Linked DNA regions of Homo sapiens: regions 2 and 3 are each linked to region 1. The links are contacts of gene promoters, found by promoter capture Hi-C in blood cells and fetal thymus (Javierre and others, 2016). All regions are on one chromosome and are shown on one strand. The core of a region is centred on a gene start or on the middle of the fragment in contact, and the rest is flanking DNA. Distances in the headings are between cores, read along the strand shown. Region 1 holds the start of WBP1 (WW domain binding protein 1). Region 2 holds the start of DGUOK-AS1 (DGUOK antisense RNA 1). Region 3 overlaps HK2 (hexokinase 2).

Evidence for each region. The method cuts DNA at HindIII sites, captures the fragments that hold promoters and counts their contacts. A CHiCAGO score of 5 or more calls a contact.
Region 2: the fragment with the promoter of DGUOK-AS1 here is called in contact with the fragment with the promoter of WBP1 in region 1 in 7 of 17 cell types (naive CD8 T cells, activated CD4 T cells, non-activated CD4 T cells and 4 more); the score reaches 7.8 in naive CD8 T cells.
Region 3: a contact is called between a fragment that was not itself captured here and the fragment with the promoter of WBP1 in region 1, in 1 of 17 cell types (neutrophils). The highest score is 5.9, in neutrophils.

The regions. Positions count from the first base shown.
Region 1 is chr2:74,456,519-74,460,013 of GRCh38, reverse strand. WBP1 (WW domain binding protein 1) reads right to left here and starts at 1,576. Exons shown (of 4, transcript NM_012477.4): 1 at 1,343-1,576; 2 at 269-371; 3 at 1-141. The coding sequence starts at 1,411. It overlaps INO80B (INO80 complex subunit B), which reads right to left. Exons shown (of 5, transcript NM_031288.4): 5 at 2,070-2,680. The coding sequence ends at 2,150. It overlaps INO80B-WBP1 (INO80B-WBP1 readthrough (NMD candidate)), which reads right to left. Exons shown (of 8, transcript NR_037849.1): 5 at 2,154-2,680; 6 at 269-371; 7 at 1-141. RefSeq lists enhancers at 1,144-1,253, 1,191-1,698, 1,924-2,073, 1,699-2,205, 2,704-2,773 and a silencer at 2,324-2,563. The HindIII fragment of the contact is 3,318 bases long and covers 1,129-3,495 here.
Region 2 is chr2:73,979,872-73,983,366 of GRCh38, reverse strand. DGUOK-AS1 (DGUOK antisense RNA 1) reads left to right here and starts at 1,928. Exons shown (of 2, transcript NR_104030.1): 1 at 1,928-2,232. RefSeq lists an enhancer at 1-81. The HindIII fragment of the contact is 8,489 bases long and covers 1-3,495 here.
Region 3 is chr2:74,869,885-74,873,379 of GRCh38, reverse strand. It overlaps HK2 (hexokinase 2), which reads right to left. Exons shown (of 18, transcript NM_000189.5): 4 at 961-1,080; 5 at 9-104. Among named protein-coding and RNA genes, the nearest start is that of LINC01291, 37 kb to the left of the region's middle. The HindIII fragment of the contact is 5,523 bases long and covers 1-3,495 here.

The sequences.
Region 1 (3,495 bases), core at 327-2,826:
CCCCATGGCATGCCCCATGATAGGCCAACAAGTTGATTTCACGCTGCCGCTGCTGTTGTTGCAGCCTGAGTTTAGCTCGTCGGTGGCGGAAGGCGCAACAGCAGCTAAAGAGGATGAGGACAGTCCAGAGCAGCCAGAACCCTGCAAGAGGCAAGGAGGGAGCAACTCAGGCATCTTTCATGCAGAGAAGGGGCCCTGAAGGCCGAAATTCTGAGGTCCAAGGGAGGGTGGACACAGGGACCTGGAAATAGCCCTCTTGGAGACTTACACCAGAGCTCATAGTAGTAGGTGCAGCAGCCAGTCTCCCCGCAGCAGTGACCACTCTCACAGAGGTAGGGCTGGTTGTTCACTCCTGGGCACAGCTCTCGAAGCTGCGGGCAAGGAGGCACTTAGAACTAAGGGGGATTCCAGCCCAGGGCACTGTCCACCCCCACCTCCTGCATGCACATACACAATCCCACCCTGTGAACCAAGTTCAGCTTGGAGAGATGGGGGAAGTGGAGGATGCTGAGAGGAGTGTTGAAATATCTGAAGGGCTGTCAACGTGGAAGAGGATTTGGAATAGCAAGAATCAGTCTAGAGAACAAGACAAAAGTGTGGACATACAAAGAGGGAGATTTCAGCTCTGCATATATGAGACTTCCTTCACACTCAAGCCTCACTCTCCCCAACCCCCCTACCCCCATCCCCTCGGTGCTTTCTGTTAAGGGAGTGTTTTGGCAGAAGCCAGAAGACAGTCTGAGATAATCTCAGTCTCAGACAACGGGTAGCGGTAGGTCATTTCCAAAGCAAGTTGCTTTCATTATCCTGCGCGGTTCACTACCCCCCACCCGCAACTGGATCTTTCCACCCCTGGGCCTCAGGCTCCCTAGGATAGAGGAGGGGCAGTGTGAGACCCAGAGCAGTGCTCCCAACCAGATGGGATTGCTGTGGATGATAAAGGATGGCATCCAGGGCGCGAGTCTGGGTTCCAGCTCTTCTCCAAATTGCTCCCTCAAGAGAAGACGCTGCCGGACTCTGTTGTGACAATAGGCACATAGAAAAAGATCACAAATAACTGTTGCAAGACAGAGGGAGCCTCCCTGGGACCTCACTATGCCTCTGGTCACTGGAGAGCCACCGCAAGCTTCCACTGCAGCCATGGGATGGGTTCTATGAGGCTACAGGCAAAGTCAGCTGCATCTACGTTACAAAGTTTAGACAAAGAGTGGAAGAGACATGTTTAGGAACTTCACAGTACCTTTGGCTCCGTGAGTTCCTCCCCCACCCCCAAAAGGAAGGGACAAGGAAAGGGGAAAGAGACAAATGGCTGTCGTGATAGGTTTTGGAGCTATTGGGATACCTGCTGTTGCGGCGCCCGAAGTGCCCCCCAGGCCTCCTCGCTGCCGTTCCCGCTGCTGGCCCGAGCCATACCTCCACCTACAGCCCCCTGAGGACCACAGCCTCCTCTACCGCCAGCCGCCCCGCCCCTGCCACCTCTGCTGCCACCGCCATGGTCCCTGCCCGGCCCATCTTCGCTGAGGCCACCATCACTCCGCGGCCGGAGCTTCCATCCGGGCAGAACTCCACCAACTAGGACTCAGATTGCTCTGCCCTACCAATCATCATCGTCCCTTGACGGACGGGCCAATAGGAACAGATCAGAGGTTTCTCCCTGTGACCAATCCACAGCAGCGCCTCCGCCGCTCACCCAGACAACAAGAGCTTGTACAGACAAAGAGTAGGTGAAGGTTCGACCCACGGCCCTGACTGACAGCGGCAATAGCCAATACAGACAACAGAACAGGCTCTGGCATATCAACCAACGAACAGCCGCCCCGAAGAGCAAGGTTGCCGCTGATTGGCTTGCGGTATGTTTTCGGAATGACGCCAAAGGCCGAAGCACGCCAGGTAATCCCGGCTGGAAGAGGCGGAGTCCCAAAAGTCGGTCCGCTGGTTTGCAGCCTGGTTTTTTGCGGTGGTTTCCAAGCCCCAGGCATCGACGCAAGCTCCGACAGGGGCAAAATACGTGTATACCGGAGACTGGTCTGCCCACAACATCCCACTCCCCCAGTTCTGTACAAGCCGAAGCACCGGATGTAATTTAATAGGGTGGGGAAGATACTCAAGAGCGGGCATGGGACGGGGCGCAGAGTCCGGGTTAAGGGCCTTACGTAGCCAAAAGGGGGGATCCAGGACCCTCGGGCCCCCCCAGCCGCATCTGCAGGTTGATGCGGTAGCACTGAAGACTACAGAGTGCCTGGCCTGTGCGGGAGCAAGCGTAGCGGCGCGGATGGGGACAGCCGGGGACAGAGCAGCGCGGCGGCGGGCCTGAGGGGGATGGCCGCTGAGACACTGCCGTGGGGGCGGGGACGCCAGGTGGGAAGGAAAGGGTGGAACCCTGTGCTCCGCTGCAGTAGCGCACCATGGGGGCCGGAGCCGCAGCCCGCCCTCCCCGCCGCTCGCCCCGTGCGCCCCCCCGGCCTCCCCGCCCACTGGTCGCCGCAGTCTTGGTGAGGCGCTCGATAGTCTGGTTCTTGTGCTCTTCTGCCCGCCGCGCCGCCTGGAGCCGCCGCTTCCGCGCCCGCTCCTCGCGCTTCAGCAGCATCTCCTCTGTGAGGGCGGGAGGTGGGCAGCCCTCAGCTACAGGCAGCGGCAGCATAGGGGAAGGTTGACTCCGCGCCTTCTGGAGCAGAGCTCGCTAGGGAGAGACAGAGACGGGGTGCTGTCTGAAAATGGAGGAAGATGGAGAGGCGAGGTCGGCCAGATCGGGGGAGGGGAAAGAAGGGACATGGAAGGCAGGGTCTTGAGCAGTGCAGGCCTTCGGAGGCGGGATATTAATTAATGAGCACCCTCTCCAGGACACCTTCCATAGGTTCCTCTTCATAAATACTGCCTCCTCCCAGATCTCCTGACATTTAGCTTTAGGTCCTTATCTCTCAAGGGGAGAAGCATCAGTAATGTTACCTGCCTGACCTGTGCACCAAAACTGTACCAGCTTTCCCAGAGGTCTGTTGTTATTTTTAATCTTATCTCAATAGAGAGTATCAGGTGGATAACTGCTCAAGCCAAAATCCCAGGCTTAGCCTTGATATATTTTCTCTCCATTCCCCTCCCCACAAGTATCTACTTCCAAAATATAGCCATAATTCATCTGATTTTCTCCATCTCCACCACTTTCGTCTTGGTTAAAGCAACCACTGCCTCTCAGCTGATTACTTCAACAGCTTCCTAGTTGTTCTCCATACTTCTATCTCTTGTCTCCACGAAGATTCATTCTCTACAAAGATGCCAAAGTAATCTATTGAAATGTAAACCAAGTATGTCACTTCTCTGCGTACAGCCCTTCAGTGGCTTGTCCACTTTTTCTTCTCCTTTGCTAGACATGTTCCAGTCTCAAGGTCTGTGCGCCTGCTGGTCTCTGCTCAAAAGCTCTTCTGGTATTGCAAATGTTATCTCTTCAAAGAAGCCTTCTCTAACTACCCTAATGTCTCTCTTCCATCATTTCTATCTGTT
Region 2 (3,495 bases), core at 679-3,178, 480 kb after region 1:
GTAATATATTTTTAATAAGCAACTTTATTAATAAAAAATGTGTATAAAGAAGACGTGGAGACTACAGATACTAGAGGGGAAAAATCACCAAATTACAACCATATTTAACCATTTGCTATATTTCCTTGTAGCCTTTCCTATTTGTGGATTTACTCACACTGATTATACAATTTGCCATCCTCTTTTAACTTAACATTGTACCATAGGCATTTCCCTGTTTGGTATACAGTTTTCAGAAAGTGTGACAGTGAGGTGAAGAAGATGGCTCAGGAGCCAGAGAACTCTGGCTTCCAAACCTGAATCTGCCACTTGGTAACAGTGTGACCTTGGACTAGGTACTCCATCTTCAAGGGAATCCAAGTAAAAGACTTAATATAGGGCTCAATGAATGACAACAACTAATATTGTTTAATCCATATGACAACCTTGTGAGGTAGGTACTATCATCAAACCCATTTTATGGATAAGAAAACAGATTAAATAACTTGCCCAGGATCACTCAGCTAGTAAGTTGTGGACTTTCAGAGGAGCCCAGCAGCCATCCTCTTGTATTCTGTCTGGGTAAATGGCACCAGCAAGTTACTGTGTCATTTACTCTTTGCCAGCAATCTATGAGAGGGTCATTTCATAAAGCCCTCTCGTTTAGGTAACTGGGTGAATGCTGGTGCCATTCACTGTGACAAAATGCAGAAGGAAGGATGCCTGGGGATGGAGACATTCGTGTGAAAGTGAGTGTGCAACTGAGGGGGTGAGGCCTGGGTTTGAGATTTGGGCCCCATCAGTGAGCAGACAGCGAGGCCTCAGTTGTGGAGGAGCTCATCCAGGGTGGATATGGAGTGTGAGAGGGAAAGGCTGCCAGGACAGAGCCCCAGGGAATACCAGCCCATGAGGGACAGGAGCTGAGAAGGCGCCGCCAGAGAGGTTGGAGGGAACCCAGCCAGGCTAGAGAGCTGCCTGTCATATCTTCCCGGCCTCTGGAACCTTACACTTCGGCAGTCCTGTTGCTCATTCCTTCTGCCTGGGGAAAAACCCTTCCCACCCCACCCCTTCTCAGCTACCCCTTGTACCTGCCAAATTCCCACTCATCCTGCAAGTCATAAGTGCCAGTTCCATGAAACCTCCAGCTGCTCAGATGATTCCAGAGCCCCACCCACTCTCCCTCCACAGAAGTTTGACTCTCCCTGCCTAGGAACAGTTATCTCATCGGCGCTGGGCACTGGAATGGTTTGCATGTTTCTTTCCCAGTTACTACAAACTCCTGGAAGGGTAGCACGCTGTCTTTCACCTCATAACCCTAGACCTAGCAACCAACCACTGTGTTGAATGAAGAGACGAGGTGAGTAGACCCTAATGAATGACAGACCCCAGTAACACTGAAGACCCATAGGCTTCTTTCCTGCTTTCTTTACGACTTGCACAAACTGGTCAGGGGCGCCCAAGATAAAACAGCCTAAACTCCTCAGGTCCTGCCTTCTGGTTCTCCAGCCTCCTGGGCTGCTGCGGCTATTCCCATTCACATTGCGCTCAGGGCAGGAGAGCAGCGGGGGTGGGCGTAGGGATAGGGCGAGCCCTTCCTGGGGCTGCATTAGCCTAGACGCAGTGGTTCCGCCAAGAGAGCCCCGGCACCAGCAGCATCACCATCTCCTGGGAACTGGCTAGAAATGCAAGCTCTCGGCCCCATCCTAACCCCACTGAATCAGAAACCCTGGGGGCGGGCCCAGCAATCTGTTTTAATTAGTCCGTCAGGTGAAGTCAAGTTAGAGCAGCACTGGACTACAGCAAGCGGGGGAGAAGGAAGTTCAGCACCCAGGTGGAGACTGCGATTAGGCCCCCAAGGCGCTTAGAGCAGACAGAGGGAGAGAGGCTCCTTTTAGGAGCGGGTTTGGCGGGCGCCACCCCAAGCGGCCAAGGGCGGAGCCTCTTTTAGGCGACTGCTCCCGCGAGGTCAGAGCCGGGCTGTGCCGCTGCCCCCGGGACTAGAAAGGGAAATCTCCTTGCTAGAGGAGGAAGCCCTAAGAACTCAAGGGAGATAGGGGTGGCAGGGGCATTTCCCTGGATGCCTGGAGCATGGAGGGTGCGAAATAAGGAGGCTTTCCTACCCCATTGATGAGCTGAAGTTGATTCCGCACGGGGGAGGAAAGGGACAGGAAGCATAATTGGATGTGCAAGCCTGTGGTTCTTCAGGAAGTTAACACGTGGAACTAACACTGTTGGATGCTGCTGAACTCTCAGGTGATTGATGTGACTAACCTCCTCAGGTACTTGACCTCTCTCCTCTTCAGCTAATGAGTAATTTGTCCTTATTTAAGAATGAGATTTGCGTATGGGGACCTTTTGCAGAAATGTAAATACATCCCGATATCCATACCTGGGCTTGGTTTTAAAGACTGAAGGTATTGGGAGGTTTATTTGATTTTGGATGTATTACTTCTTTGGTCATGTATTGGCTAAAAATATTATCAACTAATATTTGCATAGATCTTTCCCTTTTCAAAGCACTTCCACACACATTATCCTTCTGTCTGCACAGAGTGGCAAATACAACAAATGTGCAAATGTTAACTTTCCTTATCTATGACATAGTTTTTATTATCATCACCATTTTACAGATAAGAGAACTGGCGCTCAGTGAGGTAATTTGTCCAAGGTCATTCACTACTACATGTCAGAATCCAGGACCTACAATCCAGGACCTCTGAAATTAGCCCACGAATGCTAGAGCTGATACCAGGCAGAAGCTGGCATTTTGCTCTCAGGGAAAGGGAGGTTCATTAGTGGGTTGCTTGTGGACCTGCATTGGTGAGTGTGACACGTGTAGGATATCTATGCTATGCGTTTTTGGGTTTTTTGTTTTGTTTTGGTTTTGGGTTTTGGTTTTTTTTTTTTCTTTGAGATGGAGTCTCACTCTTGTCACCCAGGCTGAAGTGCAGTGGCGCGATCTGGGCTCACTGTAACCTCTGCTGCCCAGGTTCAAATGATTCTCCTGCCTCAGACTCTCGAGTAGCTGGGATTACAGGCACCTGCCACCGCGCCCAGCTAATTTTTGTAGTTTTAGTAGAGACTGGTCTTGAACTCCTGACCTCATGATCCACCCACCTCGACCTCCCAAACTGCTGGGATTACATGAGTGAGCCACCGCGCCCGGCTACTACGTTTTTCAATAGCCCCGCAAATGTCCTCATGTTTTATAACTAGTTTTGTGACTGCATTTTGAATTTTTTGAATCAAATAGGCTTCATTACTTGCAAGGAGAATGCAAGGGTACCCATCATAATGGAAGGAATACCCAACAGGGATAAAGGCCTTGGTGCCCCTGAGCCTTGGTTGACAGGGTGTATCAGTCAGGATCAGTTAGATTGTGCTGGAGTAATAGACAATCCCCAAATCACAGTGGCTTTACATAACAAAAGTGTATTTCTCAATCACAAAACGTGTCCATTATGAGTCATTAGGAGCTCTGTTTCCCGTAATCACTCGGGCATCCAGGCTGCTGCA
Region 3 (3,495 bases), core at 339-2,838, 410 kb before region 1:
CCACTCACCCCTCTCCTCTGGATGGCCTTCCGGATCAGAGCCACAACGTCTCTGCCTTCCACTCCACTGGACTTGAATCCCTTGGTCCATGAGACCAGGAAACTCTGGAAAGGGACCAAGAAGTGAATATTGATTTCCCACTAAAACTGAAACTCACACCACACCCCTCAAACCTCCGTCATTAGCAGAGACCTCTGCCACTGGGGTAAAGTCATGATTGAATTTGTGTGTTACTTCCTGGCTAGCCTAGGAAAAAGAAACTCAGGACAACTGGCACTATAAGACACAGTCATGTGCCGCATAACAATGTTTCAGTCAGTGACAGATTGTGTATACTGCGGTGGTAACAAGATTATAATAGAGCTGAAAAGTTCCTATTGCCTAGTTAGATACACAGATATCACTGTGTTACAATTGCCTATAGCATTCAGTACAGTAACATGCTATACAGATTTGTGGCCTAGGAGTTAACAGGCTGTCCCATACAGCCTAGGTGTGTAGTAGTCTATACCATCTAGGTTTGTGTAAGTGCACTCTATGATGTTTATACATAAGTGAAATCACCTAATAAAGCATTTCTCAGAACATATCCCCATTGTTATGCAATACATGACTGTACTTGTGTCCTTACATCATTAACTCTCCAAGTATCTTTCTTCCAAGGGTCTTTATCATAACACTTTAGACTGGGGAGTTCCTGATTTCTCATTCCTGTTTCTGTGGAGGGGATAAGGATACTGTGCAATGTGTGTGGGAGAGAGGGTGATAAAGGGCACTCCCAACCCCCCAGATTTCTTCACCAGCCCCCCCATCGACATACACAGTCACCCAGAAAGGCAGAACTTCATCTCCACAATCCTCCAGTGCTACCACCACCACCACAGCAGGTGGCTCAGAAGTCCCTCTCAGCCCTCCCAGCCCCAAGAGTGAAGCAACAAGTGTCTGAGGAGCCCATCTTACCTCGTCTAGTTTAGTCTGGTGGCAGGGGAACGAGAAGGTAAAACCCAGTGGGAGCTTCTTGTCTTTGATTTGTAGCTTATCCATGAAGTTAGCCAGGCATTCGGCAATGTGGTCAAACAGCTAAGGATACATGACACAGGGTGGTGAGCAGAGAGGTCGAACAGCATAGAGATTAAGGGCATGCACTTCAGGCTCAGCACGTAACTAGCTGAATGTGTGCAAAACCCATATCTCCTCTGATATCTTCATTTGCTCACCTACAAAAAGGGAATTATAACTGGACCTGTCCTCATGGAGTTATGAAAAGGAGTACATGAGTCAATACATAAAGGCTTAACATTAGTTTTTGCCCACTAAATATTGTCCTCTACTTAAGCCATTTTTCTAAACTGCTGTCAAGATAACCCTGTGAGGTAGGGGAAATCATGGCCAACATTAATCAGAAAGTCACTTCATGCCCGGGGAACAGAACATTCTTTGGTGGCCCTGTCAGAAACCCATTGACATGGAAGCCCAGTTGACGATCATACCAAAGGCCAGCCCATCTTGCTGCCAAGAAGTATTTTAGTATCCCTGTCTCTGGTGATGGGGTGGGGGGTGGTTTGCAGGGACAGCATTCTCTGTTGGCATTCTATGAACCAACTTAACAAAAACAAGTAATTTTTATATTTTTTTCTCCATTCTAGAAAACTAATCTCCTGAGGGCAATTCAAAGAAGTTATCTTTGTTTTCTAACTTTCTAAACAGAACATCCAGTAAGTCCATGAAGAGCGCTGAGAAATAAATCACATTTTGTGGGTGAGCAGCCTCACAACCGTGACCGCACGCACTCACTGTGCAGGACCCAGAGCTCCTAAGCCTTAAAAAAGCTGTATTCATAATAAGCCAGGCTTTCAATCAGCCCCAAAGCCCACAATCCCCTGGCGTCCTTCTTGCCCCACCCTACACGCTCAAAGAGAAGCTGCTGACCCTTTAGGTGAAGGCTGAGACTAGAGGCATTCAGGTGTAAAAAGTAAGCAGAGGCCAAAGAGGCTGGGCAGATTCCAAGGGCCAGGTTGACTACGTGGCAAAATCTAAAAGCCAAGGTGGATAAGAGGTCAACTATCCTTTTCCTATCCAGGAAGGTGCAAGAAGATTCGACTAAACCATGGCTTTTCAAAGTGTGCTCCTGGAACAGCAACCTCACTCCCTTAACCTGGGAACATGTTAGAAATGTACATTCTAGGGTCTAGGCCCGCCCCCACAGACCGACTATAGCAGAAACTCTGGGGGTGGGGCCCAGCCATCTGTTAGCAAGCCTTCCGCCCTCCAGGTGATCCTGGAGCAGTAGGTTGAGAACCACTATGCCAAACCACAGAAAGTTCTTACATTTATAAAGGAACTGAGAGGTTGGGAGAGGGAAACTGACAGACCTGTTGGATCTCCTGATGCCTAGGGTATGGTCAGCAGGAGGGACCCAGGAAGACAAGGCCACCCCAATCTGGAAGATGGCCAGATCTAACTAAACTTCCCACATCCATTCTGTCTGTCCCTCTGTCTGATCCCATGCAAAGTTAACAACAGCTGAGGCTGAACCTTCGACCTCCAAACCAAAACATTTTCAAGAGCAAAGGCTGGGGAGGACAAGGCTCTCTTGCCATGGGGATCACCAGTGCAGGTGAGCCAACTCCCTTGAACAGAGTTCAAGTATTTTAACATGAAAATAGGGATATATTCAGCAAATTCTGTTCTGTCGGGAAGGTGACTAGAGATGAATTATATGATACGTATATTAAACAAATTCCCAGCACCTTCTTCCTGGCACTCTAGTCAAAATGATCTTTAGTACAAATAGTTTTTATCCCAAAAAAAAAAAAAAAAAAAAAGGGAGATGCAGAAGTTGTGCAAAGAGATAAGGCCAATCATCAAAGACTGGAGGTGGGGGTTAGAAGGGGGAAAAGCAAAATGGTTTCTCCTCCCCCAGCTCTGATCACTGCTTTCTTTCCAGTTGCGCTCCTAACATAGGAAGGTAGAGAAAAATAGACCGTGAAGAAGCATTAAATACTGCCCTGCCCAATATAGTAGCCACTGGCCATCTGTGGCTATGTCAATTAATTAGAATTTTTAAAACAGGCCGGCGCAGTGGCTCCTGCCTGTAATCCCAGCACTTCGGGAGGCGAAGACGGGCAGATCACTTGAGGTCAGAAGCTCAAAGCCAACATGGTGATTCAAAAAATTAGCTGTCTCTACTAAAAATTCAAAAAATTAGCCGGGCCTGGTGGTGCACACCTGTAGTCCCAGCTACTCGGGAGGCTGAGGAAGGAGAATCGCTTGAACCTGGGGGGCAGAAATTGCAGAGAGCCGGGATGGTGCCACCGCACTCTTGGGTGTCACGCTTGGGTGACAGAGTGAGACTGTCTCAAAAAAAAAAAAAAAAAAGAAAAGAAAAGAAAAAAGACCTTAAAAATTCAGTTCCTCCGTCACACCAGCCACACTTCAAGGGCTCGATGCCACAGGGTCAGTGCCTATCATATTGCACAGGGAAGATAGGAGACA